Regions from separate parts of the Homo sapiens genome. Here regions 1, 2, 3 and 4 are each linked to region 5. The links are contacts of gene promoters, found by promoter capture Hi-C in blood cells and fetal thymus (Javierre and others, 2016). All regions are on one chromosome and are shown on one strand. Each heading gives the region's core, a stretch centred on a gene start or on the middle of the fragment in contact. The rest is flanking DNA. Distances are from core to core; before and after follow the strand shown. Region 1 overlaps R3HDM2 (R3H domain containing 2). Region 2 overlaps CTDSP2 (CTD small phosphatase 2). Region 3 overlaps TSFM (Ts translation elongation factor, mitochondrial). Region 4 holds the start of CYP27B1 (cytochrome P450 family 27 subfamily B member 1). Region 5 holds the start of PIP4K2C (phosphatidylinositol-5-phosphate 4-kinase type 2 gamma).

Region 1 (6,035 bases), core at 336-2,835, 190 kb before region 5:
GTGGGATTACAGGTGCCCGCCACCATGCCCGGCTAATTTTTGTATTTTTAGTACCGACAAAGTTTCACCATGTTAGTCAGGCTGGTCTCAAACTCCTGACCTCAAGTGATCCGCCCACCTCAGCCTCCCAAAGTGCTGGGATTAGAGGCGTGAGCCACCGCACCCAGCCCTCTCTTCCTTTCTCAGAAGGTAAAATTTACACTTGGAAAATAAGATGGCAGTCATATCTGGCAGTTAACTGTTCTCTGCCTCTGTGGGGCCCAAATCCAATCTTCTGAGGCAGCAGCAATTGTCAAAGATCTGGCTACCAGCATAGCATTGAAGAGTGCTTCACAGCTTAGAACCATTTAGGCTAAATTGACCCAAGTAGCAAACACCTATAAGAGAATCACTGCTGATAAGACTTCTATGAAGGATTCCAAATGTCTTAAAGATAACTTCACAGGAGTGGAAAGGAGCTGAACTCAGCCATCTGACTACTGAAGCGTTCTATAAACCTTTAGGCCAGGCACGGTGGCTCACACTTGTAATCCCAGCACTTTGGGAGGCCGAGGTGGGTGGATCAGGAGGTCAGGAGTTTGAGACCAGCCTGGCTGGCGTGGTGAAACACCGTCTCTACTAAAAATACAAAAATTAGCGGGGCATGGTGGCGTGCACCTGTAATCTCAGCTTCTCGGGAGACTGAGGCAGCAGAATTGCTTGAACCCGAGAGGTGGAGGTTGCAGTGAGCTGAGATCATGCCACTGCACTTCAGCCTGGGCAACAGAGTGAGACTCTGTCTCAAAAAATAAAATAAAATAAAATAAAGCTTTAATAATGACCCCGTCACCAGAAAAACAGACACTTTGTCCTAGCCTTCTAATCAGCTGTATTTAGCAGCCAACATCCATCTTTTGCAATAAAATGCCACCTCTTAGTTCCTATTTCTATCAAATTATCACAGGTTTAGGCAATAGATAAGTCAGAAACTACAGTTAACTTGTCTAGGACCCAAGACAATTAATAAAACTTACTTGGAGAAGCAGCATAGCCTCTAGTCACCTGAAGACAAGTTTTAAAGATCCTAACAACTGGTAACACTTGGGCACACCAAAATGGCTGTAATCTGAAAAACAGCCACATGCCACTTCTAATGGTGTCATTATACTAAAAGTGACCTTCCCCCCTGAAAGTTTTTAAAGTAAGCTAAATCTTGAACAATGACTCCTACTCTTCTCTAAAATAGGAGCTATGACAGCTACCTTAATGGGATGCCCGATAAACTCAGGGCAAGGGGCTCACTGTGCTGACATTCTCACCTCACCTAGGACTTCCGCTGATTCATCCTGATGGACTGACAAGTCACTGACTTGCCAAAGAATCTTGTTTATTTCACATATAAAAACACTGTCTACTCCAGTGTGGCGATTCCTCAGGGATCTAGAACTAGAAATACCATTTGACCCAGCCATCCCATTACTGGGTATATACCCAAAGGATTATAAATCATGCTGCTATAAAGACACATGGACATGTATGTTTATTGTGGCACCATTCACAATAGCAAAGACTTGGAACCAACCCAAATGTCCAACAATGATAGACTGGATTAAGAAAATGTGGCACATATACACCATGGAATACTATGCAGCCATAAAAAAATGATGAGTTCATGTCCTTTGTAAGGACATCGATGAAGCTGGAAACCATCATTCTCAGCAAACTATCGCAAGGACAAAACACCAAACACCGCATGTTCTCACTCATAGGTGGGAATTGAACAATGAGAACACTTGGACACAGGAAGGGGAACATCACACACCGGGGCCTGTTGTGGGGTGGGGGGAAGGGGGAGGGATAGCATTAGGAGATATACCTAACGTAAATGACGAGTTAATGGGTGCAGCACACCATCATGGCACATGTATACATATATAACAAACCCGCACGTTGTGCACATGTACCCTAGAACTTAAAGTATAATAAAAATATATATTAAAAAAAAACAATAAACACTGTCTACTCAAGACAACTACCATCCAGACACCTTCTGCTCCTGCAGCAGAGCCCTTCCCTCTCTGACTTCATGGAGCAACTAGCAACAACAAAATACATATGTATATTTCAGGTCAATATTAGTAACTCTCTATAACTAACAAGCCATAAAGGGCTGGAAACAGAGCCCATAAAAGGACCAGAGTGTTAACCCTCAGAAATTGCCAATTTTTCAAAGAGATCAAAATCACCTGGGGAAGAAACAATAGCTTTTCAGCATTAACAGATGTTTGGTATTATTACGGTAATCTGAAAAATAGTTGCTAAGCTGGGACCTGAAAATATCAGTCCCCAGCCACACCAAATAATCACAGAAATATTTAAGTAAGTAAGCTTTGTTCTAACATGAACTTCAAAAAGAAAGACAAGTCAGGGCAATAAAAACAAGCAGAAAACATCCATTTCATTTAAAAAGAATGAAAGAGAGAAAGGGAAGGAGAAAAAGAGGAATAATAAAGAACTATGCCCATGTTTAACATGGCCACAGTTATGTGTAACAATTCCCATAAAGAAGTGCAGTTCGTCTCAAAAAAAAAAAAGAGTGTAGTTCATTTCCCCACCCCTTGAATATGAGCTGGCCTTGTGACTTGCTTCAACCATCAGAGTGCAGCATGAATGACACTGCGACCACCGAGCCCAGGCCTCAAGAGGCCGTTCAGTTTCCACTCAAAACCTCTTGGAACCTAACCATCATGCAAAGAAGCCAAGCCAGCCTGCAAGAGGCCATACCAACCTAGAGGACAGCTCTAGCCCAATGCTAGACATGTGAATGAGGCTATCCAGGTCCAACCAGCCCCTAGCTAACGTGCCAACTGAACACAAATGAGTGAGCCCAGCCAAAACCATGTGGAATAGAGGCAAACTGTGACAGAGTCTTGCTCAAATTGCCAGCCCACTTAAATCATAAACAAAGAATGCAGCTGACCATTGAACAAAATAGATTTATTACGAATGATAAAAATCGAGCTCTCAAGTGAAAATCAGAATTTTGAAAATCATGTAATCACTATGATGAGCTTGACAGTTTCTCAATACTTAAAGACTATTCTGCCAGGCACAGTGGCTCATGCCTGTAATCCCAGAATTTTGGGAGGCCAAGGTAGGTGGATCATTTGGGGTCAGGAGTTCGAGACCAGCCTGGCCAACATGGTGAAACCCCTGCCTCTACTAAAAATACAAAAATTAGCTGGGTGTGGTGGCAGGCACCTGTAGTCCCAGCTACTCGGGAGGCTGAGGCAGGAGATCACTTAGACCCGGGAGGTGGAGGTTGCAGTGAGCCAAGATCGAGCTGCTGCATTCCAGCCTGGGCAACAAAGCAAGACTCTGTGTCAAAAAAATAAAAGAAAAAGTGCATGCACAAGCCAGACACAGTGGCTTACACCTGTTATCCCAGCGCTTTGGGAGGCCGTGGCAGGTAGATCTTCTGAAGTCAGGAGTTAGAGACCATCCTGGCCAACATGGTGAAACCCCATCTCTACTAAAAATACAAAAATTAGCCAGACATGGTGACAGGCGCCTGTAATCCCAGCTACTCAGGAGACTGAGGCAGGAGAATCTCCTGAATCCGAGAGGCAGAGGTTGCAGTGAGCTGAAGTCCCACCACTGCACTCCAGCCTGGGCAAGAGAGCAAGACTCCATCTCAAAAAAAAAAAAAGTGCATACATATCCCACAATACTCTGCATGCATAAACAAAAATAAGGAAATGTTTTTGGAGATAAGAGTCTCACTCTGTCGCTCAGGCTGGAGTGCAGTGACGCCATTTCAGCTCATTGCAACCTCCACCTCCTGGGTTCAAGAAATTCTCATACCTCAGCCTCCCAAATAGCCATGCACCACCATGTCCAGCTAATTTTTATATTTTTAGTAGAGTTGGAGTTTCACCATGTTGGCCAGGCTGGTCTCAAACTCCTGGCCTCCCAGCCTGACCAAAATGGCGAAACCCCATCTCTACTAAAAATACAAAAATTAGCCAGGCGTGGTGGCAGGCGCTTGTAAATCTCAGCTACTCGGGAGGCTGAGGCGGGAGAATCACTTCAACCCGGGAGGCAGAGGCTGCAGTGAGCTGAGATCACAGCACTGTCCTCCAGTCTGGGCAACAAAGCAGGACTCTGTCTCCAAAAAAAAACTCCTGGCCTCAAGTGATCCACCTGCCTTGGCCTCCCAAAATGCTGGGATTACAGACATAAGCTACTGCAGCCAGCCAAAAATAAGGAAATTCTTGATGTATAATACTTAAAAGCTATATTGCTAAGTGAAAAAAGATGCAGAACCATTTTTGTAAAATGGGGGAAAATATACATATACATACTTGCCTTTTTTATGCTTATCAATGCATATAAAGCACAAAAACTGGTAATAACAGTTGCCTCTGGAGAGAGGCGTAGGAAGTGACTGGTTTGGGGGTATAAGAGCAAGATGGGGCCAGGCACGGTGGCTCATACCTGTAATCCCAGCACTTTAGGAGGCTGAGGCGGGTGGATCACCTGAGGTTAGGAGTTCGAGACCAGTCTGACCAACATGGTGAAACCTCGTCTCTACTAAAAATACGAAACAATTTGCCGGGTGCTGGTGGCTCACACCTGTAATCCTAGCACTTTGGGAGGCCGAGGTAGGTGGATCACGAAGTCAAGATATCGAGACCATCCTGGCCAACACTGTGAAATCCCGTATCTACTAAAAATACAAAAATTAGCTGGGCGTGATGGCGCACGCCTGTAATCCCAGCTACTTGGGAGGCTGAGGCAGGCAAATGGCTTGAACCTGGGAGGCGGAGGTTGTAGTGAGCCGAGATCACACCATTGCACTCCAGCCTGGGTGACAAGAGCGAAACTCAGTCTCAAAAAAAAATAAAAAATAAAAAAGAGCAAGATGGGGCCTGGCATGGTGGCTCACACCTGTTACTCCAGCACTTTGGGAGACAGGGGCGGGTGTATTGCTTGAGCTCAGGAATTCGAGACCAGCCTGGGCAACATGGCAAAAACCCGTCTCTTCTAAAAATACCAAAAATTAGCTGAGTGTGGTGGCTCACACCTGTAGTCCCAGCTCAACTTGTGAGGCTGAGGTGGGAGGAGGGAGGATCGCCTGAGCCCAGGAGGTGGAGGCTGCAGTGAGCCAAGATGATGCCACTACACTCCAGCCTGGGCGACAGAGTGAGACTCTGTCTCAAAAAAAAAAAGGCAGGATGGAAACTCCATTTCATACTTTTTTCTATCCTTAAAACTTTGAACCATATAAATGTAATACCAATTCAAACAGTAAATCCAAAAATGTATAAGAATTCTCATTTTACATAAGGAACAACTTCTCATATTTTCTCTAGTCTCAAAAAATATCCATCCCATGTGCTTACTTTGGCAGCACATATACTAAAAAAAAATAATAAAAATAAAATAAAAAAAGTCCACTCCTAATTTTTTTTTTTTTTTTTGAGATGGAGTTTTGCTCTTGTTGCCCAGGCTGGAGTGCAATGGCACGATCTTGGCTCACCACAACCTCTGCCTCCCGGGTTCAAGCGATTCTCCTGCCTCATCCTCCCGAGTAGCTGCGATTACAGGCATGCGCCACAACGCCCAGCTAATTTTGTATTTTTAGTAGAGATGGGGTTTCTCCATGTTGGTCAGGCTGGTCTCGAACTCCCAACCTCAGGTGATCCACCCGCCTCAGCCTCCCAAAGTGCTAGGATTACAGGCGTGAGCCACCGCGCCTGGCCATCCATTCCTAATTTTTAACTATAGGTTCAGCGCTACCTAAACAAGGTATCTAGCCAGGCACAGTGGCTCACACCTGTAATCCCAGCACTTTGGGAGGCCGAGGAGGGCAGATCACGAGGTCAAGAGATCGAGACCATCCTGGCCAACATGGTGAAACCTCGTCTCTATTAAAAATAAAATTTAAAAAAATTAAATGGGCATGGTGGCGTGCGCCTGTAGTCCCAGCTACTCAACAGGCTGAAACAGAATCACTTGAACCCAGGAGGTGGAGGTTGCAGTGAGCCGAGATT
Region 2 (5,525 bases), core at 2,436-4,935, 250 kb after region 5:
GTCGCACACACACATACACACTCATTGAGGCTGGCCAACCAGTTCCTCCTTCATATGGCTGGCCTCTGCAGAAGGAATGGAAGGAGTCTGCCAGGGAGGCACCCATCTCCAGGGACATTCTGCTGCTCCCCCCACACCCCTCAGCTTCACCTATGACCAGCCAAGCCGTATAGGTGAGTCCACTTGAGAAAGTACTGATCTAGAAGTCAGGAAACCCAGCTCTTGCTCCAGTTCAGCTTTTCAACAGTTCCGTGGCCTTGCTAGGGCACAATTCTCTGGGGTTCAGTTTCCTCATAAGCCAATCTGGAAAGGTTTCCCCTGCATGGTCCCTTAAAAGGTGGCTTCACCTGAAGCATGCACCTGAATCATGAACTCAAAAGCACTCTAAAAGGTGAAATGTTAGGCCGGGCACGGTGGCTCAAGCCTGTAATCCCAGCACTTTGGGAGGCCAAGGCGGGCGGATCATGAGGTCAGGAGATCAAGACCATCCTGGCTAACACAGTGAAACCGCGTCTCTACTAAAAATACAAAAAATTAGCCGGGCGTGGTGGCGGGCGCCTGTAGTCCCAGCTACTCAGGAGGCTGAGCCAGGAGAATGGCATAGACCCAGGAGGTGGAGCTTGCAGTGAGCTGAGATCGAGATCGCGCCACTGCACTCCAGCCTGGGCGACAGAGCAAGACTCCATCTCAAAAAAAAAAGTGAAATGCCAGACAATGCAAATGTCTGGCTGACACTAGCCATGTACCCTTGGGCAAAGTCCTTCCCTCTCCCTGTGAAAGTTTTCCTTATCTGTAAAGTGAGGTTAATTCCTCTTATTGGAAAGGAAAAGTTGTCAGGAGAACTAAGTGAGATACGAGATATAAAATGCTAGGAATAGTACCTTGCCTATGGCAAGTACTCTATAAATATTGGCTGTAACCATTACTGGGTAAACAAGGATGGATCATTACTCTGTCCATTTACTCTGAAAACTTTAGGACTCCCCTTGAAGAGCCACAGATCTTTAACATACAGTAAAACGGGACCACCAAGAGGAATTTTCCTGCTCGGGGCAAAACAGGCAGTTGGGGCCACTGCTGTGCCTACCTGGCTCTTCTCCAGGGGCACCTGTCAGAGCCACAAGGAGCATTTGGAACACATGCATGCCTGACCCACCTGCCCATGCGCTGATTCAGCAGATCCCAGGTGGGGGGTCTGTATTTTTAGCAAGTGTCACAGGAGACTCTGATGTGTGTCCCTGGCTGAGAGCCAGTATCTACCGGTTGCCAGGGTCTCTGACTAACCCAGGGCTAGAAGGCAATTCAGCCAAAGTCCCCTTGGCCCCTCTCCCCACCGTACCTGACTGGCTCAGTGTTTCTGCAAGCCTTAGAGGACTCATGCCTAGGATCCAGTTTTCTTCTCTAGGGGTAGTTCTATGTGACGTGAGTCAGAAAACCTGGGTCTGCTGTCTCTACCTGCAGGCCCCTGTTCCTGTGAAAGAGGGGTCCTAGCTCTATTCTGCTGCGGGAACAGAAAAGCTGGGATCTACTATCCAGGAAGCCTTCCGCAGGCAATTTGAGCCTTTCCATGAGTCTGCTTGGCTCTCACTGGGATTGGGGCCATATTTGTTCCCTGGGAACAATGCAGATGGGAAAGTGCAAATTCAAGAGGATGGAAAAAGCTGTGGCAAGAAATAAAAGAAGGTATAGAATAAAAAGAGAGTAAGAGCAAAGTCTGATTTGGGGGGATGGGGGTGGGGGAAGGACTAGAGCACCTAGGAGGGAAATGGAAATGTCAGATCCACTCAGAGATCAGGTTCAAGGCTAACTCCTAGAATAGCTAACATAAAACAGGGCATACACACTTTTGCCTAGAGGGAGGCTGTGGCGCTCACTGGAGTACCCTGTGATAACAGATCCTGGTGCAGGCATACTCAGACCTGAAGGGCTGGGCATTTTGCCAGACAAAGAAACTCCATTCTATTTGGTCTCTGGTCCAGAGATGCTTCCAGTTTTAAGTCGTCAACTTATCCACTTTAATTTCTAGTACTTTCTTTGTAAGATTTGCGTGTTAATGTGCTCATCTGCATCCCAGTTCAGAACTACTACTCCATTTCAGAAAAGTGAGGGAAATATGTCAGGGCCACACCCAATCCCACGTCCCAAAGACAAGCGAGTTAATTCCATGCTTCCCAGAGCTGGCCAGACTAAGACAAGATGAAAAGCAGATCAATGCTGCTTTTGTACTTTCTCAATGTTGTACCCCAAAACCACAGGAGCAAACAAATAGCTTAAGAACATCTATTTCTCTTCAAACCCCATTTTCTTTTTCCCCCTCTTATTAAAATTACCTAAAAGAAACCTCAATCTCTCTGAATTCATTAACTCTCAAAGCAGACAGTGAGAGAATGTAGCATACAGTTGTCCTGAATATTCGTTATATCCATATTTGAGAACCTCTAAGGAAGTTTAGACTTTAGAGACTCACAGGGGGCACATGCCTGGCCTTCTCCCACCCCCAGATGCCCAGGCACCAGACAGAATGGCCAAAGTCCCACAGCCCAGGCAGATAACAAATCACATCCCAAGTCACATGACACAAAGAAGGGGTCTGTGCAGCAAGGCTGTTTGTAAGCCTAAGAGGTTGATCCTTCCAGAAGGCCCAAGCCCCCACAATCAGTGTCCCCTCTGACCCCCGGCCACCTGTCTTGAAAAATAAAACCCACAAGACTACGTGCTGTTTACACTGTGTCCTTGGGGGAATGGAGGAGGGCGAACAGAGTAGTCTAACTATGTAAAGAGGGAGGACATTAATATTTATCAAGCACCTACTAAGTACCAAGTATAATAGAAGGGTAGATATCATTATTACTACTTTATAGATAAGTTACTCAGAATACTAAAGTGATTTATCAAGTCTCATTGCAAATAGGAAAAGAAGGTATTTGAACCCAGGCCTGAAGCAATTTTGCTTCAGAAACAATGCTTTGAAGTAACAATGTAAACTTTAACCACCATCCCTGACCCTGGTCCCCACTCTGTCCAATCTAAGAACCAAACTTACCATGATGGGAATAAAAGACAATACCCCAAATTACCCAAAAGCTAGCAGAAAAAAAAAATTGTAGGAGGAATTGGAAGGGAAGCTATGTATTGATATGTACACACATACACACAATCCCATATATATTTACATATTGTCTTTCTTTTCCATGCTTATTTACAAACACTTTAATTCTTCACAGGTTGGGAGCATCAATTCACGTTGGCTAGAAATGTGACTTCTTTAGTATTTACCATTTTAACAAAATCCATGATAAGGGATTTGGAAGGTCCCATGGAAAGGATGAAATGACACCTCTCTGCTACCCAGTTTCTTTAAGACCTCTACGGTTGAGAAGAGAGGACAAAGGAACACCCCCACCTCTGCCATCCTCCGAGGGATTTTTCACAGCAATTCCAGTGCTGCTCAGTGGAAAGCTCTGCAAGTCAACTGCAAACCCCCAGCCCCAGATGTTAGGCATTTACAAACTTTGTTGCTGATTTATCAGCGCTCCTCTGCAATTTTGGGGACAGGAGCAAACACAAGCTTAAGTCACCACGCAGGCTGCAACCCTTACCCAAAGATGGGGGAAAAACTCCAAAGGAGATGCAGGAGGGAGCCTCAGCAGTCACTGTGAGAGCACAAAGAGGCCAAGACCCAGGGTAGGCAAAGGAAGGTGAGAGGCACCAGCAGGGCAGGAGGAGGAGCCAGCTATAAACATGCAGGCTTCCCGCCCCCTGCATAGCAAGCTATGGAAGGAAGCTCCAGCAAGATTCATGTCTAAGCTTTTCAAGTTAAAGGCTTGCCTACATCTACAGTGAACGGTGTCTGAACAACTTTTTGAGGGAATAAGGCAGAATTTCTCCCTTATGCGGATAACAAAAGAGCTAGCCATCCTGAAAACTTGCCACATCGTAATTTTCAGAGATGGTCAGTCTCTCAGAAGAATCCTTGCAATTAGCTATCAGAACCTGTCCAGTTCGGCATGTGAGAAGGTAATCCAGGGCATCATCGAGAGGAAGGGGCATCAGGATTCATGGACAACAAAAAAATCTCTGATTCCTCCAAAAGGCGTGTGGGTCACTGAGCTCCGGAAGAGGCTGCCTCCACCAGGTCTCATTTCACGTTGGGAGGTTACAGCGTGGGTCTTGTTTCCTTGGCTTTCCCCCATCTAATCCCAAAGCCAAGGTCACAACCTCTTAGCAATGGGGTGACAATCTCATATAGAGCTGCAATCAACAGCCATTCTTGCCAAGCTGATATTAACATTTCTTTTTTCTTTTTGATGTTACACACAATCCTGTCCTTGCTGTACCAGAAAGCCATTTCACCCATCTGTCTGGGAAGATGATCCAATTTTGGTGCTTTTATCATCAATGCTTTCAGCAACTTTGTTCTACTTCCCCTACTGTAATTACTTTTGAATCATCAACGCACCCAGACAGCCTTAAACCTCAGAGAACAGAATGCTAAAAAAAGAAAAAAAAAACCCGCAATGGCAAGTAACTTCACTAAATAGCCACCCAAGCTAGGAGCAATTTGTTTCTTTCCAGAAATTTACTTATTAATAATAAGTACCTCACACTCCTTCTTCCCCTTTTTCCAAAGGCAGGCAAGGCATGGAGATGGGATGTTGTGGAGAGGACGGAGTGGGGAGAAGAAGGAACTCCAAAAGGAGCCAATTAAAACATCTGCTTCCCCAGTCCCCCAGCTTTTGTTTTTTGTTTTGTTTTGAAGACGTAGGTTTTGTTTGTAAATGATGTGGGACTCAGAAAGTTGGTTTAGTGGTTGCTGGGTGCCTAAGCAGCCCAGGAAGAAAGTCTGTCTTCTCTGGAATGCAATCAAATTACATGGGGAGGGGCCGGGCGCGGTGGCTCACGCCTGTAATCCCAGCACTTTGGGAGGCCGAAGGGGGCTGATCACCTCAGGAGTCGAGACCAGCCTGGGCAACTGGCGAAACCCCTGTCTCTACTAAAAAATACAAAAAAATTAGCCAAGCGTGATGGCGCGCGCCTGTAATCCCAGCTACTTGGGAGGCTGAGGCAGGAGAATTGCTTGAATTTAGGAGGCGGAGGTTGCAGTGAGCTGAGATTGCGCCACTGCACTCTAGCCTGGGCAACAGAGTAAGACTCCATCTCAATTAAAATAAAAAATTACATGGGGAGGGAGAGACCCAGTGGCTGCTGGCTTAAACCACACACACAAAAAAGGAGAAACATTAACTCCAAGAAAATCCAACACCAGCAACTTAACACTGTCAAGCCAGTTGCTTTGCTTTCTGCTGTTATCTATTCTGTAGCCTGCCATTCACCCTGGTGGATGAAACTTCCAGCTCTGATTTCTAAGATGCCCCGGCGCAGTCCAGCTTTCCCTTACTCCTCGCGTGGCCCCACGATGCCCAAGGCACACTCCCTGCAAGAGAGTCCCTGCAAGAGAGGAAGACCTAGTGGGGAAGCACAGGGCTCCTCCCCCTACTCATCACCACTGCCCCCTCTTGAATCCC
Region 3 (6,343 bases), core at 167-2,666, 200 kb after region 5:
TTTTTTTATTTTTTATTTTTTTGAGACGGAGTCTCACTTTGTCACCCAGGCTGGAGTGCAGTGGCGCGATAGATCTTGGTTCACTGCAACCTCCGCCTCCCGGGTTCAAGAAATTCAGCCACCCGAGTAGTTTATAAGTTGGAGTACACTCTAAAATAACAATAAAGCATATGTATTATAGTAAATACATAAGCCAGTAACATAGTTGTTCATTATTGTTTCAAGTATCATGTACTATATGTAATTGTATGTGCTATACTTTAATAGGACTGGCAGCACAGACGTTTTCTTTACACTAGCATTGCCACAAACATGTAGGTAATATGTTGCCCTACAATGTTAGGAGGACTACCGTGTCACTAGACAATAGGAATTTTTCAGCTCCATTATAATCTTAGGGACCGTCATCATATATGCAGTCCGTCATTGTCCAAAATATCGTTATGTGGTGCGTAACTGTATAAAGAAAATACAACTGTGTGCCCCATAGGGTTGTTGTGAAGATTAGATTCATCCAAGGCACCAGTTATAATAATACCTGGTATTTGGCATTTAGTGGTAGACTGCCAGTAAATGATAGATTACTTTAGTTTCTGTTAGAGAATTTAGAGAATCAGGAAACCTGAGTATATCTTAGAACTACATTTAGTGCTAAATTCTGTGACTTTGTTGTCTGCTCTTTTTCCTCTCAATTTACAGGCAGAGATCTGGCTCCACAAGGAGGCCCAGAAGGAGGGCTGGAGCAAAGCTGCCAAGCTCCAAGGGAGGAAGACCAAAGAAGGCCTGATTGGGCTGTTGCAGGAAGGAAACACAACTGTATTAGTAGAGGTGAGTTGTTGGAAATTCCAGATACCAAGAACAGCTGTCCCTTGGGTGTAAAGCTTGTAGTAGGCCCTAAAGGGGCCTGTTCTTGAAGAAGAGATCTGTTTAAGAACCATAAAGCGTAGTTGAAGTTAAACTCATGAAACCCTGGGTATTAGTTACGAATTCGTTTAAGTATAGAAATGTACTGGTGTGTTGATGAGAAATGGCCTGACAGTCTAGAATATTACTCCTGAATGTGAGTCTGGCACAGGCTTACACCTTGTCACTGATTGTTTCCTGGAACAGTTAGATTACAAGTTAATTATATTAATTGTTGCTGAATAGAGAGTAGGTATTTTAGAGGAGGTTTGGGGGCCATAATTGGTGAAGAGTCAGATGTGGATTAGTTTAGAGTGAGAGATGGGGATAAACAAGATAATAGCATAAGTGGTTTGGAGTTGGGATGGCTGGAGAATGAGGTGATGATGGTGTGCAGACATAGGTAAGTGGTGAACTTGTGGTGAGTCCTTCAGGACATTATTGAACCATCTTCTGAATATACAGGCTATTGCTAACTCACTGGCCCAACATAAATCACTTCATTCTGTTCCAGGCTAGGAGAGGAAGCGTAGCTTTAAAATTTTGGAGTCATTTTTTTTCCGTTGAGTCTGTAGCTTGTTCTATCAGTATCTTGATTTATTCTCCAGCCTTAAGGCACTTTTGGAAATTATCATTAAACAGCTTATACAGCTATATCAATTTGTTCCCACAGGTAAACTGTGAGACAGATTTTGTTTCTAGAAATTTAAAATTTCAACTGTTGGTCCAGCAAGTAGCCCTTGGAACCATGATGCATTGTCAGACCCTAAAGGATCAACCCTCTGCATACAGTAAAGTAAGTTTGGGATTTGTCTCCAGTGTGCTGAATTTGCTGTCCTCATTGGGTCTTTTGCTGTTCCTATTGTAGACATTCTCATGTCTCATTCTGTTACTTCACATCTCTGCTTAAATGCTATCTCTTTGCATAGAATTACCCTTCCCCCGTTGCTATATCCCCGTGTCATGCTGCATTTAAAATTTTTTATTATGGTGCTTATATATTACATTTTAATTTATCTGTGTGTTGTCTATCTTCCCCAGCAGAATGTAAGCTTTATGAGGCAGGGAATTTGTCTTTTCACTGTTGTATCTCTGGTGAAAGAGAATTGGGCCCACTACTTAGTTGGAGCTCAGTAAATCTTTGTCAGATGAATGAATGAATGATTGAATGCATGCATGCCAGTGAAATGGAGTTAGCCAGATCAAGTGAAGCCATTTGAGGCTTTGTGTTCAGAAATTTGGAATGGTCTTAGGAAAGAATTTCTAAATAAAGAGATTGGAGCCAGGTGTGGTGGCTCACCCCTGTAATCCCAGCACTTTGGGAGGCCGAGGCAGGCAGATCACCTGAAGTCGAGAGTTCAAGACCAGCCTGACCAACATGGAGAAACCCGTCTCTACTAAAAATACAAAATTAGCTGGGCGTGGTGGCGCTTGCCTGTAATCCCAGCTACTTGGGAAGTTGAAGCAGGAGAATCGCTTGAACCCGGGAGGTAGAGGCTGCAGTGAGCCGTTGTACTCCCCCCGGGCAATAAGAGCAAAACTCCGTCTCAGAAAAAAAAAAAGAGAGAGAGATTGGAAAAGACATGGTTTAGGAAAATAAGCATATTCTTATCCATAGAGGGATCAAGGAAAGGAATTATGTCATTCTGCCTTTGACTCAGCCTTATTGCCAAGGCAAAGATGAACCAACCACTCACAGTAATTTTTTTGAGTTTATTACCAACTTTTTTTATCTTCTTTATCCTTCTCTTGAGATGTCTTGGTAAATGTTAATTATTATTGGCATTACATAGTCATATGGAAAACAATGTTGAGATTATTTTTTTTAATTGTATTGAGTAGGTAAGTCACTTGAACTAGAAATTTTAGCTTTGATTTTGCCAGTAAACACCAGTGTACCCTTTTTTTTTTTATTTTTGTTTTTGTTTTTTGAGATGAAGTCTTGCTCTGTCACTCAGGCTGGAGTGCAGTGGTGCAATCTTGGCTCACTGCAACCTCCACCTCCTGGGTTCAAGCAATTCTGCATCAGACTCCCGAGTAGCTGGGACTACAGGCGCCCGCCACCACACACGCCTAGTATTTGTATTTTTTGTAAAGACAGAGTTTCACCATGTTGGCCAGGCTGGTCTTGAACTCCTGACCTCAAGTGATTCGCCCGCCTCCGCCTCCCAAAGTGCTGGGATTACAGGCGTGAGCCACCATGCCTGGCCCCAGTGTACTCTTTTTCCAGATTTGCCATTTATTAACATTTTGCTGTATTTGCTTTATCACTTCTTTTTTTCTTTAAGAGACAGATCTGGCTTTCTTGCCCAGCCTGGAGTGCAGTGGCACAATCATTGTTCACTGCTGCCTCAAATTCCTGGGCTCAAGTGATCTTCCCACCTCAGACTCCTGAGTAGCTGGGACTACATGTGCACACCACTATGCTAGGCTCATTTTTAAGTTTTTTGTAGAGACAGTCTTGCCATCTTGCCCAGGCTGGTCTCAAACCTCTGGGCTCAAGAAATCCACCTGCTTTGGCCTCCCAAAGTGTTGGGATTATAGGCTTGGGTCACTACAGCTGGCCCTATCACTTTTTATATACATGTTATCATCGCCCTTTTTTTTTTTTTTTTTTGAGATGGAGTCTCTCTGTCACCCAGGCTGGAGTGCAATGGTGCCATCTCGCTCACTGCAACCTCTCCCTCCCAGTTCAAGCGATTCTTCCACCTCAGCCTCCCAAGTAGCTGGGATTACAGGCACCTGCCATCATGCCCGGCTAATTTTTTTTGTATTTTTGTAGAGACGGGAGTTTCACCATGTTGGCCAGGCTGGTCTTGACTCCTGACCTCAGGTGATCTGCCCACCTGGGCCTCCCAAAGTGCTGGGATTACAGGCGTGAGCCACTGCACCCGGTCATCATCACTGTTTAAAAAAAATCTTTTTGTAAGTATGTTGCAGACATCAGGATCCTTTATTCCTTCAGCATGTATCTCGTAAAAACAAGGACATTGTTATATAACCACAGGACAGTGATCACATTTAGGATTTTTTTTTCTTTGAGACGGAGTGCAGTGTTGTGATCTCAGCTCACTGCAACCTTCACCTCCTGGGTTCGAGCAATTCTTATGCTTCAGCCTCCTGAGTAGCTAGGATTATAGGCATGCATTACTACTTCCAGCTAATTTTTTTGTGTTTTTAGTAGAAATGGGGTTTTGCCATGTTGGTCAGGCTGGTCTCGCACTCCTGACCTCAGGTGATCTGCCCGCCTTGGCCTCCCAGAGTGCTGGGATTACAGGCGTGAGCCACCGCACCCAGCCAAAATGTGTTAGTTTTAGTAGTTGTCATTCTACTGTTAGAAATAAATTTCCCTTCTCATTTTTATTTAGTGATTTATTCAGCACTAACATTGACTCGTGGGTTCTTATTTTATACAATAAGTTATAACTCATTATTCGTTTTGATGCTCAAATTATCTGCGGATTTGATCAATGCAAGCTGACTGTAATGTCCTTTGATATGCCCTTATTATTTTCTGAGTATTTTCTTACTTTTTGGCTTTTTTGTTTATTCTTATCTTTTGGGTTTATGTCATACTTTCCTTTCCCCAACTGTGGAATGGGCCACTTCTTCAAGGAGTCCTGGTCCTTTTTAGTTGGGGAATGGTTTTTAGAAATCAAGATTTGAATGTTAGGTGTGCTGATTTCTTTCTTTCTTTTTTTTTTTTTTTTTTTTTGAGACAGAGTGTTGCTGTGTAGCCCAGGCTGGAGTGCAGTGGCGCGATCTTGGCTCGCTGCTACCTCTGCCTCCTGGGTCCCGGTTCAAGCAGTTCTCCTGCCTCAGCCTCCCGAGTAGCTGGGATTACAGGCACGTGCCACCATACCCAGCTAATTTTTGTATTTTCAGTAGAGACAGGGTTTCACCATGTTGGGCAGGCTGGTCTTGAACTCCTGACCTCGTGATCCACCCATCTTGGCCTCCCAAAGTGCTGGGATTACAGGCGTGAACCACTGCGCCTGGCCAGGTGTGCTGATTTCTACTGAGATGTCATTTGTTCTTCGAGCAGACAGTGCAGGTGTATGTGCTGTGTGCGTGTGGTTCAATCCTTCCTTTTTCATAGCAACTTCAATATGTTTACTGTTTTTAGTTATGTACTCATATGTACTAAGTGTTACAATATATATACAAAATTGTTTCAGAATTGCTACCCCTGACCACTGCAAATAACAAAACTACTAAGGAGTTCAAGATTTATTTGTAGTTCTTTTTGTCTTTACATTGAAGTTAGGTGGTCAAATGACTCCGTTTAGTTATTTGGATTTTTTTTTTCCTTCTGTGAGCTTATGTTACTCATTTGAAATATAGTTTTATATTTCTTTGTAGTCAGTATTTATTTTCACCCCAAGTATGTGTTGATTTAATTTTATTTTAATTTTATTTTTTAAATGTGTGTTTTTTTTTTTGGCTGGGCACAGTGGCTCATGCCTGTAATTCCAGCACTTCGGGGTTTTTTGTTTGTTTTTTAAATCTTTTTTATATTAATAGAGATGAGGTTTCACCATATTGGCCAGGCTGGTCTCAAACTCCTGGCTTCAAGTGATCTGCCTGACTTGGCCTCCTCAAAGTGCTGGATTATGGGCATGAGCCACGGCACTGGGCCAGATTTTTTTTTTTTTTTTTTAAGATGGAGTTTCACTCTCATTAGCCAGGCTGGAGTGCAATGGCATGATCTCAGCTCACTACAGCCACCGCCTCCTGGGTTCAAGTGATTCTCCTGCCTCAGCCTCCTGAGTAGCTGAGATTATAGGTGCCCGCCACCACACCTGGCTAATTTTTGTATTTTTAGTAGAAATGGGGTTTCACCATGTTGGCCAGGCTGGTCTCGAACTCCTGACCTTAGGTGATCCACCCGCCTCAGCCTCCCAAAGTGCTGAGATTACAGGCGTGGGCCACCGCGCCCGGCCGGCCAGGTTCAATTTTATTTTTGAATACATAAGATACATTAAGAAAGTCCTCAAAGTTAAAACTGTCAAAAAAAAAGTATGCTCAGAGGAGTCTTACTGCTTCTCTCCCTTCTACCCCGTTCCTATCCATCCCTTTATTTAGATAACCAGTGTCATTGGATTGTGGTTATCCTTTCAGTATTTCTTTTTGCAAAAATAAGCATATTTATACAAATAGTTCTTTGTTGCACAGATAGTAGTATAATATGCATATACACTTATAATCTGCTTTTTTCACTTAATAATATGTCCTGGAAATACTCCATAGCAATTCATGAAGGTCATCCTTTTTATTTTTTCCAACTACATAGTATTCTGTTGTGTGGATGTGCTATAGTTTAATCTCCTGCTATGTTTGGGCATTTAGGCTGTTTTTAAAATTTTCTGATTAGAAATAATTGTTCAATGAATAATCTTGTGCAGTATTATTGGAAGTATATCATCAAGGTGAATTCATA
Region 4 (6,297 bases), core at 77-2,576, 180 kb after region 5:
GTACCCTAGCCCAATTCCTCCGGTTCCCCCAGTTCCCAGGATTCGGGCCTCAAAGGATAAGGAGGTAGGCGGGGAGTGAGGTTGGGGCTCAACCTGAGTGTGGGTGAAGCAGACTGGGATGGGAACCCCAAGATGCCCAATGGTAGAGTGGGACAGCCGACCTCCCACCATGCCCCCAGATTGATAGTTTCGGGACCCGCAGCAGGAGAGGGCCGCTGCAGGGCGTCTGGGCTTCTGGGGGCAGAGAAGACTCACGCAGTGAGCAGTCCGCAAGCCCGCTGGCGGCAGCGGCGGTGCTCCGTCCAGGGCGAGAAGCTGCAGCGCTCGGGCCGGGGTCCCTCCTGTCGCAGCAGCTCCTCGACGAGTGCAGGGGCAGCCACGTACACGGTGCGCACTGTCCCAAAGCTGGCTAGCCACACCGGCCCGAAGTGCGCGGCGCCCTGCACCTGGGGGAGCGGACACAGCGGACACTTGGATACCTGGGCGGGGACTTTCAGCTTGACCTGTGCCCACGCCAAGGGCGTTGACTGGGCTTGGGAATAGGGAGCTTCTGCTCTTTCTCGGGTGCCCAACTAGTGTATGCCTTTGATACTGCAAACTCCTCCTCTCTCATTTCCCATCCCTAGAAAGTTTGAGTGTGATGGGCAAAACCGGAACTTTGTGCAAGGCAGACATTCAGGACCTCTCTGATCATCTCGGTCGAGGAGAAATCTCTAAAAGTTCCATGTCTGGACTGTCCATCTCAGGACGAGTCCTCAGTGAATGAAAAGGAACCCATGTAGCTTTAAGCCGCAAGCAGGCGGAGGGTACTGCCCACTCCGGCCTCCCCCTCCCGCGCACTTGTACTTTATCTGCAGGATCTCCACACCTCAGGACAGCGAGAAGGCGCTTTCGCAGCGCCCTCTGCTAAGAGTCGGGACGGGCTCTGCCCGAGTGTAGCCACACCGCCCCCAGCCTCAACTCGCCTTTTCCTTATTTCATGGGCATCCGTTCTCTCTGGCTGTCCCACATTTGCTCTGCACTAGTCAGTCCTTTCTGACGCTGTCAAAACCAGTTTCCCCAGCACTCTGTCTCGGGAAAGGCGTCCCTTCCTACCTGCAGCTCGTGTAGCCTCGACAGCCCCCCCTTGCAGAAAAGTTCGGCCAGAAAGCTGGGCGTAGAGGGGCCTGGGATGTCTGCCAAGCTCCGGCGTGCTGAGTGGTACTCTCGGTAGCCTAGGGAGGCGCCCAACTCGGGCGCCCAGCGGACGCGATGGAACACTCTGGAGGCGTACTTGAGGGTCTGGGTCATGGTCTGGTTCAGGGTGCTCGCGAAAGAAAGCGCTTCTCCTGAGCATCATATCTCAACCCCTATTTAACCTTTGGGTGAGGTGATGACGCCCCCTCTCCAAGCTCCTCAGCCAATCCCTCCTCCTGAGTGGTCTGTGCTGGGGATTAGCACCCAGGAACAGTAGGCGGGGCTGGGGCTGACTTCACAACTCCCTTGGGTCTCATGTTGCAATGACCCTCATGGGAGGGAGGGCCTAAGATTTTCCTCCTGGGAGAGTGCCTTTGTCTAGGAGCCTCAAAGTCTCATCCTAGGAAAGGCTATAAGGCTTTTTAGTAGGGACTAGGTGACCAAGCTACACTAGTCAGTCTCTGATATTCCCACTTCTACCAGTGAGCCCAGCCCCTTTAGGCCCATCCTCAGGAATTCCCCATCTTTCAGCTCCTCCAGGAAGGGAAGCAGGGGAGGCACAGCTGTAACTGTCCCCACATTCTTGGCTTAGTGGGTTGTATCTTCTCTGCATTATTTTCCTGCACTAGCCACACCTCCCCCTCCTCCTGTACCTAACATATACTGGGCAGATGGCAGGTGGGTTAATGGGCTAAAATGGCTCCTAGAACCTCCATCTTTCTTTCTTGAGGATAAGGGGGTCTCTTGGGTATACAAGCCCCCTCCTTCCAGACATGGGAATTTGGGGCTTGAGAAGCAGAAATGAAACTTTTTGTACATTAGTTAAGTTCAGAGATTGTCTGTGGGGTGTTAGAGGAGCTAAATGGATGTGGATGTTCTAATTCCCCAGCTGACTCGGTCTCCTCTGGGGGGCTTTCTGGTTAGCAGCTCCTTTCTACTTTTAGCCTCAGAATCCTGTGGTGGCTCATGCCTATAATCCCAGCACTTTGGGAGGCTGAGGCAGGAGGATGGCATGAGGCCAGGAGGTTGAGACAAGCTTGAGCAACATAGCAAGACTGTCTCTACAGAAGAAGTTTAAAAATTAGGCTGGGCACGGCAGCTCATGACTGTAATCCCAACACTTTGGGAGGCTAAGGTGGGCAGACTGCTTGAGCTCAGGAGTCTGAGACCAGCCTGGGCAACATAGTGGAACTGTCTCTACAAAAAATACAAAAATTAGCCAGGCATGGTGGCGTATGCCTGTAGTGCCTTGAGAGGCTGAGGTGGATTACATGAGCCCGGGAGGTCAAGGCTGCAGTGAGTTATGATTGTACCACTGCACTCCAGCCTAGGCAACAGAGAGAGGGCCTGTCTCTAAAAAAAATTAAAATAAAAGAATCTCCCACAGTTTACCTCTCTGCTCCTTACTCCCTCATTCCCCACTGCAACTCTATCAGGCTCTGTGCCAGTCAGCTAGCTCTGAAGTTCTGGAATTGAAGGTCAATGTGAAAAAGGAGAGGGTCTCCACCCCCACACCTTCCCAAGGACTCTCCAGAGACAACACTTAGGGAACACAGATTCCCCAGGTCAAGTCTTACGCAGGGAGAGGACAGGAGGATGGTAGAAGGCATATGATACATACTCCACCCTTTCCTGAGAAATGGCAGAATAGGCATGTGTACACATATACATGTTATCCCAGGATCCACAAAGCAAACAGAAGTGGTAATTGAGCCTAGCAAGCAGTTTAGATGGACTACATTCCTCATTCCAGCTGAGGAGAGATCTCACAAGGAGAAAGGAGTGCTAAGGAAGAGCAAGACCCCACAGCCTTCCAAAGATCCCCTATGGTCCAAAGTCCTTTGACCATCTCAGTCAGCTGCTTTGTTTTCTGTTGGCAGTGGAGGGACAAGGTGAGAGGAGCCAGGGGTAGTCATGAACACCAGTGGGTTCTGCCCTGGGCAGCTCCCCACCTTCTTTAAGAGAGTACTGTGTCTCAGCTCCAGCAGTCTCAACTGGGAAGACCCAGGACTCCTGCTCTTTTCTCTAATCCCTGGGAGACGAGGTCCAGCTAAGGTAGAGTAAGCAGTCAGTGACCAGGCAGGCTGGTTTGGGAGGTCACTGCCTGGAGGACGGGATCTTGTATTCTTCGGAAGATGGCTGGGAAATTCTTCCCTCCATTACGTAGAACTTTCTTCCCCTCCTCAGTTGAGGTGCCTAGATGTCCCACAACGGGGTCTTCACTCTGGGAGAAGGAAGGGTCCAATAAGTCCTTGCCCACTGTTCAGACTGCCCCTGGCCCTTAGACACCTATCCCATCCTCCTGGCACTGAGTTAAGTCCAAATACAGAACCACTCTGGAAAGGGCCTCCACCTCCTCTAGGTCCCCTACTCACCAGGTCCTCCAGAGGCACACGCTCAAACAGTGGGTGCTCTTCGAAATGAGTGCACATCCAGTCGTGTAGCTCCAGCACATCGGTTATGGTATACACCAGCCCCTGCATAGGCAAAATCACCCTAGACAGGAGGCTGCATGCAACGTCAGCAGCCAGATGAAGGAAGTGGTGGTGTGAGTCCCTAAATGCACCCCCACTGAATTCTTAGTGAAGGGCCCCTGAGTAGGCCACTCACCCCATCATCCCTCCGATCCCAACTCACCCCAACTCTTAGCACGTAGGCATATTCTGCTAGCAGGGTGGGACTGATGATTCGCCACTTGTGCTTTGTCCGCTTGAAATGTGGGTCGGGGAAGAGGAAGAACATCTTTGTCAGCTGTGAGACAGACACACACCAACAGGGTTGTGAGAGCCTGGCCTCCATGCCCCCACCTGCCTACCAGCCTAACCCACCAGGGCCCCTCCCCACCTGGCCCTTGTAGAAGAAGTTAGGAAGGTGCTTCATGGCATTGCTACGGAGACAGGCGATGTTCTGGAAGCCACCTGCAGGAGCTGCGCGTAGGGCCCGAATCCGGTCTTGTACATAGTCTGAGACCTTCACCCGGATCTCCAGACCCAGAATAAGTGTGTCTGGGAACAGCGGTGACAGTTCCACTGCACACAGAAATAGCAATGGAATCATCAACCATATACTTGTAGGAAGTGCAAAGGGGTCAACACAGGAAAGGAAGCCTCAACCTGCAACTACCAAAGTCCAGAACGGCAAGAGAGGACAGAGATACATATATGGATAGTTTTATGCTCAAGAGGCGGGGGGAGAAATGAAAATTGTCACCAGGACCAGAATGGGAGGGCTGAGGATACATGTATATTTGCCATTGCTTTAGAGTTTTCCACAGTGTTTTCACACATTGTGTTATTTCATCCTTATAACACTCTGTGGTAAATTGTGAAGATAAGGAAACTGAGGGTCAGATATGCCGAAGATCATAGAGTTAAGAAGGGGCAGAACTGGAACTTATTTATTTGAGATGGAGTCTTGCTCTGTCACCCAGGCTGGAGTGCAGTGGCACAATCTTGGCTCACTGCAATCTCTGCCTCCCAGGTTCAAGTAATTCTCCTGCCTCAGCCTCCTGAGTAGCTGGTCTTGAACTCCTGGCCTCAAGTGGTCCACCTGCCTCAGCCTCCCAAAGTGTTGGGATTACAGGTGTGAGCCACTGTGCCCAGGCAGAACTGGACCTTAAACCAAGGTTTTCTGCCTCTATGTACCATGCTCTTCTTCTCTATCAGGCTGTTATCTGTTTGGGAAGATCTAAAAATAGGGAGTGGCTTGGCATGCATGGGTGGGACAATACAGACAATACAAGAGGAACCCAAAAAACAGGAGAGTGGGGCAGAAGGAATGAGATCTGGCGAGGGAGGGGCAAAGGGGAGGGGAGATGGTAGAATCTCTGAGAAAAGACAGTTCAGGATCACTGGCCACAACGGCTAATCTCTGATGCTTGTGCTGACCAGCTCACTGACCCGGAACCTGGCAGATGAAATGGCTCATGTAGGGATTGACGCCAGAAAGGACAACCCAGGTTTTAAGAAGCATTTGAGGCAGCCCCCTCCACTCTCCAGGGCAAAGGTCACAGACCCAGAGTAGAGGGTAGGTGGAGCCTCTCCATGCTGATGTCACCAGTGTCTGGACGAAAGGGGAAAGGCCAATTATGACCCCCCACAAAAGTTGCTGAGGCAGCAGAAGCTACTAGGCCTCTTCTCACCCCAAAAAGAGGGCCTGAGTGTTACCTAACAGGCCACCATAGCCACAGCCTATGTCTGCAAACTCCACTTGGGCCTGAGCTCTCTTTTCTTTCTTATCCTTTGGGTCATCGTGGCTCTGATTTTGAGTGAGTGGAGCGAAGAACTCTGGGTATAGCTCAGACCAGTCCATCTCCTCTGGCTTCACAGGGCTATTGGAAAGAAGACATAAGAAGCATGAGAAGGTTGGTCACACCATTGCAGAAGTGGTACTGTGAGAGTGTGTGGGTGGGTGAGGGTGGGAGGTAAAAGGGAGGAGGGTTTCTCAAAAATTCTGTAACACTGGGCCCTGTGGCCTCTAAGAGGGACAATGGAAACCACCCTTAACTCCCAGTGTGAATCATAGGACCATCATGAGGCCCATAAACGCTGACCTGCCCAACTCCACTTCTGGCGGTTGATGTGACCCTGGCCGGGTAACTGCCCTTTCTGGGGCACAAGTTCCCCTTCTCCCGAGACTGGCTGCCTAATGCACTGGGATCCTACTTTGTGTTTGTGCTCTGCGGGGAGGGAAGGTAAGGTAAGGTGCGGGCAGGATTGTGTATATGTTTGCCTTTTTATTAAATCCAACAAACAAAAGCAAAAGATGGAAACGACATTCTGCCTCTATCACTTCAGTCTCAGTAACAATTTATTTCTCTTCCCAAACTTAGCACCGCTACCCAGACTTAGGCCCGAACGCCACGCCCACTCTCAACCCGCCAACTCCTCTCTCGGTCGAATCTCCCGGTCCCACCCCCAAAAACTGACGTCACCCATCTGATCCTCCCGGGTCTACCCCAAATCCTCCCAGCAGTTGCAGCACAACTGCTCTCCCGGCTGCTTTGAGAATCCCGCCCTCCTCTCTCTCCCTCTGCCCACTCCTCACTAGCGCAGCGTGTGGTCCGCCATGGGGTTGGAGTGAGCACGTTGCCGGTAGTAGCGCTTCTGGGGCGGTGGGGCC
Region 5 (6,046 bases), core at 690-3,189:
TCTACCGCTATCTACTAAGAACTTCAAAGAGGAACCAGGAGTACAGGAGGAACATGAAAGTGGACAAGGAGCGTGACCACTGAAGCACAGCACCAAAGGGAGGGGTTTAGGCCTCTGGATGACTGCAGGCAGGCCTAGATAATATCCAGCCTCCCACAAGAAGCTGGTGGAGCAGAGTGTTCCCTGACTCCTCCACGGAAAGGGAGACTCCCTTTCGCGGTCCGCTAAGCAACAGGTGCCTTCCCAGGCACTGGTGTTACCGCTTGACCAGGGAGCCCTCAAATGGCCCTTATGCGGGCGTGACAGAGGGCTCACTTCTTGCCTTCTAGGTCACTTCTCACAATGTCCCTTCAGCACCTGACCCTATACCTGCCGGTTATTCCTAGGTTATATTAGTAATGCCACAAAGAGTAATATTAAAAGCTAATGATTTATAATGTTTATACTGATGATTGATAATTGTCCATGATCATCTCTATATCTAATTTGTATTGTAACTACTCTTTATTCTAACTATTTTCTTTATTATACTGCAACAGTTTGTGCCTTCAGTCTCTTGCCTTGGCACCTGGGTAATCCTTTGCCCACAACTCCTGACCTCAGGTGATCCTCCCGACTCGGCCCCGCAAAGTGCTGGGATTATAGGCGTGAGCTACCGCATCTGGCTTTTTTTTTTTTTTTTTTTTTTTGAGACAGAGTCTTGCTCTGTCGCCCAGGCTGGAGTGCAATGGCATGATCTGGGCTCACTGCAACCTCTGCCTCCTGGGTTCAAGCGATTCTCCTGCCTCAGCCTCTCAAGTAGCTGGGACTACAGGCACCTGCCAACATGCCCGGCTTTTTTTTTTTTTTTTTTGAGATGGAGTCTCACTCTGTCACCCAGGCTGGAGTGCAGTGGCGTGATCTCTGCTTGGCGTGATCTCTGCTTGGCGTGATCTCGGCTCACTGCTACCTCCGCCTCCTGGGTTCAAGTGATTCTCCTGCCTCAGCCTCCTGAGTAGCTGGGATTACAGGCTCACGCCACCACGCCCGGCTAATGCCCGGCTAATTTTTGTATTTTTGTAGAGACGAGGTTTCACCATGTTGGCCAGGCTGGTCTTGAACTCCCAACCTCAGGTGATCCTCCCGCCTCGGCCTCCCAAAGTGCTGGGATTACAGGCGTGAGTCACCGCGCCCGGCTTCGTTCTTTCTTGTCTCCATGTCTTTGTATGCTGTTCTCTTTGTCTAGACAGCCTTTTAACCTCTATTCCTGAACTCCACCCACCCTTCCAAACTCAGTAAAGTCTCTATCCTCTTTGAAGCCTTCCCTGACCAGCTACACTTCCTTTCTTTGTATCATTGTCTTTGCTTCATACACAGTTCTAGGATAGCTCATACTTTGCATACTGCAAACTTGATCTCCATTGGCCAGCCAGTGCCATTAGACTCCCAACTACTTCGGGGCAGTCACTGTCCTATACCCTGCTTCAATAAAAGGAAAATCAGCCCCTAGAACAGGACCTAGTACAACTAAGTGCACAATAAATACTTGTTAAATGAATGAATGAATTTCAAGACGCTTGAGACCACTGGTAAGAATTTTGGGTTTCCAAAACCCTCCCCTTCCCAACCCCCATTCGGTAAGAATGCTTTCGCATTAGCATCAGGTCCGAGGTTACTCATTAGAAACTGGGCAAAGCCGGAAGGCGGCCACTTTGCAGCAAAGAAGCCCTAGACCTTGGGAGTCAATCAGGCCAGCCCAGGCCGCACCACGGTCTCCTAGTTGACAGTTCGAGGGGCCTCGCGGGCCGCTTGCTTCGTCAGCTTACAGGGATCCCGCACGCCAGGTGAGCCCACACACTGAGCGGACATTGGGGCAGGCAGGCAGGCGCCGGGGGGCGGGGCCAGCGTCGCCCCGCCCCGTCCTGCCTCGCCCTGTTCGCGCGTCCGCTGTCCGGCCTCCGGTCACGTGACAGCAGCGCAGGTGAGCGCCGCTTCCGGGGTCGGGCGCCTGGATAGCTGCCGGCTCCGGCTTCCACTTGGTCGGTTGCGCGGGAGACTATGGCGTCCTCCTCGGTCCCACCAGCCACGGTATCGGCGGCGACAGCAGGCCCCGGCCCAGGTTTCGGCTTCGCCTCCAAGACCAAGAAGAAGCATTTCGTGCAGCAGAAGGTGAAGGTGTTCCGGGCGGCCGACCCGCTGGTGGGTGTGTTCCTGTGGGGCGTAGCCCACTCGGTGAGAACCAGCCCTAGACCCCCGCAGCCCTGTCCAAACCCCTCGGCTCCGAGGCGTCCCTGTTTCCAGGCTCCAGCCTCCGGAGCCCCACGCAGTGCCACTCCCCTCCCCCGGGTTGTCTTGGTCCCTGCCCACCAACCCCAGGTGTTCCCCCAGCAGGTTTTCTGACTGTGGACTTTTTTCTCCCCAACAGTTCTTTACTGCTCCACTCTAGTTCCACCTTCCCCCCGTGAAATCCAGCTCCCTGTGCTTTGACTCCTTCCTGCCATGTCTAGCTTCAGCCTCAGGCTACGCGGACTGGCCAGGACCGGGCGCAAGCGGGGAGGACATTAGGGGGAGTGGCTTTTTCTCGGGTGGTTGTTGGTGAGAGTGTAGGTGGAGGGTGAGGGGCCGAGGGGAGTAGATGGATGAAAAGGTTCTTTCACTTTGCTTTCCACCTTGCTTCCCAGCCCCGGTCCTTGGCTTTTGAATCTTGGTTTTGTCTCGGGGAAGCTCCAGGTTTCCTGGGCTTTCTAATCCTGCTTGTCCCTTCCTTTCCCTTCCAGAGGTACAGCATTTTAGAGAAGCTACCCCACCCTGAGCTAGAAGTTGCACACTCTCAGGACTTATGTATATATGCCTTTGGTCTTAACTGCATCCTTATCGCTGGCTAGAGCGATCGTGTTTGGTGTAGGTGGTGGCGATTGTTGACCAAAGAGAAGGCTGAGGGGCTCTGTTCCTGAGGTCACTATGGTGGTGAACTTTTGAAGCAGGAAACTGCTCTGGGAGTCAGGAGGAGGCCAAGGAGACCTCCATCCCCTTTCCTGAGGATACCTCAGCTGAAAGAAGCACAGCCATTGCCCATCTTCCGTCAGGTCTGGAGTGGGAGAAATGCAGTTATCTTGAATGTGACACGGAATATTTTCGAAATCAGCGTTCTTGAATATAGTCATGGCTAGGCTGTGGAGATGGAAGTTGTGAGGAAGAATACGCGTTTTGTCACATTTTTAATTTGTGGTAAAGAATTTCTTAACCAAAAATTAAGAATGTTGTTTGTGGCCAGTCGGATCTCTTTTGGATTTGTGGCTCTCTGGGTGGTAAGCTCTTAGTGAGTATTCAGTGGAAGGCACTTGGTATGGGGAAGGCTGATGGAGGTAGGGCTGCCTCTCATATGTACCTTCCAGGTGATTCATCCATTCCCTGTGGGATGCTTAACAGGGAGGGTTTTCCCTTGTTAAGGATTGGGGGAGTTACATGTAAGACCTACCTCAGCTTCACTAGGTATATATACTTTAGCCCCAGCACCCCACCCTCTGCCAACACACATCTACTTCAAGTGTTTGGAATGGAGAAATTCCTTGAACATATGTCTTAGTGATGATTCAGCTTGCTTAGCAGGTGGGGAGGAGGGGGCAGGAGGAGCTATAGCTGAATTTTAGGCTGGGAGTCTCAAGTGGCTTTTTTTTTTTTTTTAATCTGGAGGGATATGTTCTGTCCTCCTTTTCTACTGAGAACGGGAGGAGTTGGTTGCACTGCAGTGTGTGTGATTTAGGTTAGACTGCAGTTCATAGCCTCTGTGGAATGATCTAGTAAGGATAGGCAAGGCATTCATTTATTCAATTAATAGACATGTCAGGATCACTGTGTGCCAAACATTGTGCTAGTTAGACACCTGAAAGATGCAGACGACTAGAATGAGCCCTTGTTCTTGAAGAGCTCACAATCTAGATGGGAGAACTTACATAAACTAGTGATTAGAGTCATGCAGTAACAAAGGCAGGTGAAAGGTACTGTAGCAACACCAAGGAGAAAGCACGGCTCAGGATTTTTAAGTACTAGAGCTCCCTTTCTACCCTGAATTAGCAGACTGCAGATCCTGGGGGCCGAGGAGAGCATGTGATGCTTGTGTCCTTTGGGCTGTGGATTAGTTTGGCTTTAGGGAACAGACGCCTAATGAGCTCATATCCTCTGATTGCCTGCATTCGCTCTGAAATCAGCTGCTCTTCCTTTACCTTACACCTTAGACAGGTGGGGGCCTACTGCAAACAACTGGGTCAGAGTGGTCTAGGAAGACTGGTCCTGTTTGCAAAGAGATGCCTTTTGCAGGATATGGACATTTATCCTTTTTGCTGTGGTTGGCCCCACAGAATCCCATTAACACTCTTGTGCATTTTTAAAATGCCTTTTTTTTTCTTTTTCTAATGGAACATGTAGCTGCCTTGAGCTTGCAGAGTTTTTTTTTTTTTTTTTTTTTTTTTTTTTTTTCTAGAATTTCTCACAGCTTTAAAAATAGTCCTGAGTTGCTTACAGGGTTAGCCTAATATAAAATGACTGTTGTGAGCATGAAGTTCCATGGGGGTGGGCGTGTTGGGGGCTGTGTGTGAGGGTTGCTTACTGTAGTCCTTCTTGGGCAGCAGAAGGGTTAGACACATTCTCTCACTTCTGTCAAGCATATGCATAGCCAGTGTTTTTAAAGGAATGAGGTCTGAGTGGCCCTTGCATGACTGCTGCCCAGACACAGTGTATGGGTAGCTCTCCACACCCTTCTTCATGGCTTCCCTATTCATGGTTTGGCTTATCAGATCAATGAGCTCAGCCAGGTGCCTCCCCCGGTGATGCTGCTGCCAGATGACTTTAAGGCCAGCTCCAAGATCAAGGTCAACAATCACCTTTTCCACAGGTAAGTGATGATCCTTGCCATTCTCATGTCAACCTTCCCAGAAAGGAGTAATAAATAATTTTAAAAGTTTCAGTGAGTTGAAAATTTAACATCCTTCCCAAATGCAGAAATTAGTTTTGTGCAAGGAAACCATGAGAATAATTTCTGGTGTTCCCTATATCCTTATATGAATCAGTGTTATCTCTCCTCTAGCCTGGCAATTCCATAGAGTAAATATGTACAGATACCATTACCTGCTCTTTCTCTCTTTTTCTGCTTGTGACCTTGGAGATGCCATGAGAACCATTAGCTTCTGACAGGGACTCCTTGAAAGAAAAACTTGAATTCTCTACTAAGCCCTCCTAGGAAAAGAAGATGCCATTCAAAACAGTGGTGTCTGTTGCTGACTTTAGAATGCTTCTGACTTGCTTGAGATTTGGGAAATGCTGCTGTTTGGATGGGTAGTAGATCCTGGCTCTACTATACCACTTACCAACCATGTTACTTAGGCAGGTCACTGAATCACTCTGAGACAGTCTCCTCTTCTATAAAATGGAAATAATATGTTTTTATAGGACCTCACAAGGGCCAGGCGTGGTGGCTCATGCCTGTAATCCCAGCAGTTTGGGAGGCCAAGGCGGGTGGATCACTTGAGGTCAGGAGTTCGAGACCAGCCTGCAAACATGGCAAAACCCTATCTCTACTAAAAATACAAAAAATTAGCCAGGCATGGTGGCGCATGCCTGTAGTCCCAGCTACTTGGGAGGCTGAGGCAGGAGAATTGCTTGAACCCGGGGGATGGAGGTTGTGGTGAGCCGAGATTGCACCACTGCAGTCCAACCTGGCAACAGAGTGAGACTCTGTCTCAAAAAATAATAATAACAAATAAAAATTAAAAAAAAAGGACCTCACAGGGTTTTATGAGAATCAAATGAGGTAATATGTCTGAAGGTACTTTATAAACTACCAAGTGTATGTAAATGTAATATTGTTTGTTTTCTTACTTTGAAAACCTGAATTTCAGGGAAAATCTGCCCAGTCATTTCAAGTTCAAGGAGTATTGTCCCCAGGTCTTCAGGAACCTCCGTGATCGATTTGGCATTGATGACCAAGATTACTTGGTGAGAGTCCATTAAGGGGTGAGGGTAGCCCTTTCTCCCCAGCAACTGAGGAGTACTATTTGGGACAGCCATATTT

The links. Contacts are between HindIII fragments. The CHiCAGO score rates a contact against its expected background, and 5 or more counts as called.
Region 1: a contact is called between a fragment that was not itself captured here and the fragment with the promoter of PIP4K2C in region 5, in 2 of 17 cell types (naive CD8 T cells and M2 macrophages). The highest score is 6.1, in naive CD8 T cells.
Region 2: a fragment that was not itself captured here is called in contact with the fragment with the promoter of PIP4K2C in region 5 in 1 of 17 cell types (naive B cells); the score reaches 5.2 in naive B cells.
Region 3: a fragment that was not itself captured here is called in contact with the fragment with the promoter of PIP4K2C in region 5 in 4 of 17 cell types (naive B cells, M2 macrophages, erythroblasts and 1 more); the score reaches 5.6 in naive B cells.
Region 4: the fragment with the promoter of CYP27B1 here is called in contact with the fragment with the promoter of PIP4K2C in region 5 in 4 of 17 cell types (naive CD8 T cells, total CD4 T cells, activated CD4 T cells and 1 more); the score reaches 7.0 in naive CD8 T cells.

The regions. Positions count from the first base shown.
Region 1 is chr12:57,398,620-57,404,654 of GRCh38, forward strand. All of the region lies in intron 1 of R3HDM2 (R3H domain containing 2), which reads right to left. Among named protein-coding and RNA genes, the nearest start is that of R3HDM2, 29 kb to the right of the region's middle. The HindIII fragment of the contact is 1,559 bases long and covers 807-2,365 here.
Region 2 is chr12:57,839,035-57,844,559 of GRCh38, forward strand. The region is part of intron 1 of CTDSP2 (CTD small phosphatase 2); the gene reads right to left. CTDSP2-AS1 (CTDSP2 antisense RNA 1) reads left to right here. Exons shown (of 2, transcript NR_188077.1): 2 at 3,225-4,727. Among named protein-coding and RNA genes, the nearest start is that of CTDSP2-AS1, 4.7 kb to the left of the region's middle. The HindIII fragment of the contact is 239 bases long and covers 3,567-3,805 here.
Region 3 is chr12:57,785,464-57,791,806 of GRCh38, forward strand. It overlaps TSFM (Ts translation elongation factor, mitochondrial), which reads left to right. Exons shown (of 6, transcript NM_005726.6): 3 at 700-828; 4 at 1,577-1,699. Among named protein-coding and RNA genes, the nearest start is that of TSFM, 5.8 kb to the left of the region's middle. The HindIII fragment of the contact is 1,074 bases long and covers 880-1,953 here.
Region 4 is chr12:57,765,752-57,772,048 of GRCh38, forward strand. It overlaps CYP27B1 (cytochrome P450 family 27 subfamily B member 1), which reads right to left and starts at 1,327. Exons shown (of 9, transcript NM_000785.4): 1 at 1,096-1,327; 2 at 256-446. The coding sequence starts at 1,290. It overlaps METTL1 (methyltransferase 1, tRNA methylguanosine), which reads right to left. Exons shown (of 6, transcript NM_005371.6): 1 at 6,223-6,297; 2 at 5,343-5,506; 3 at 4,021-4,205; 4 at 3,814-3,927; 5 at 3,552-3,653; 6 at 2,720-3,400. The coding sequence ends at 3,245. RefSeq lists enhancers at 5,213-6,297, 6,098-6,297. The HindIII fragment of the contact is 11,205 bases long and covers 1-2,210 here.
Region 5 is chr12:57,589,253-57,595,298 of GRCh38, forward strand. PIP4K2C (phosphatidylinositol-5-phosphate 4-kinase type 2 gamma) reads left to right here and starts at 1,940. Exons shown (of 10, transcript NM_024779.5): 1 at 1,940-2,211; 2 at 4,773-4,870; 3 at 5,874-5,970. The coding sequence starts at 2,038. RefSeq lists enhancers at 1,548-1,597, 1,678-2,179 and a silencer at 1,778-2,037. The HindIII fragment of the contact is 11,010 bases long and covers 1-6,046 here.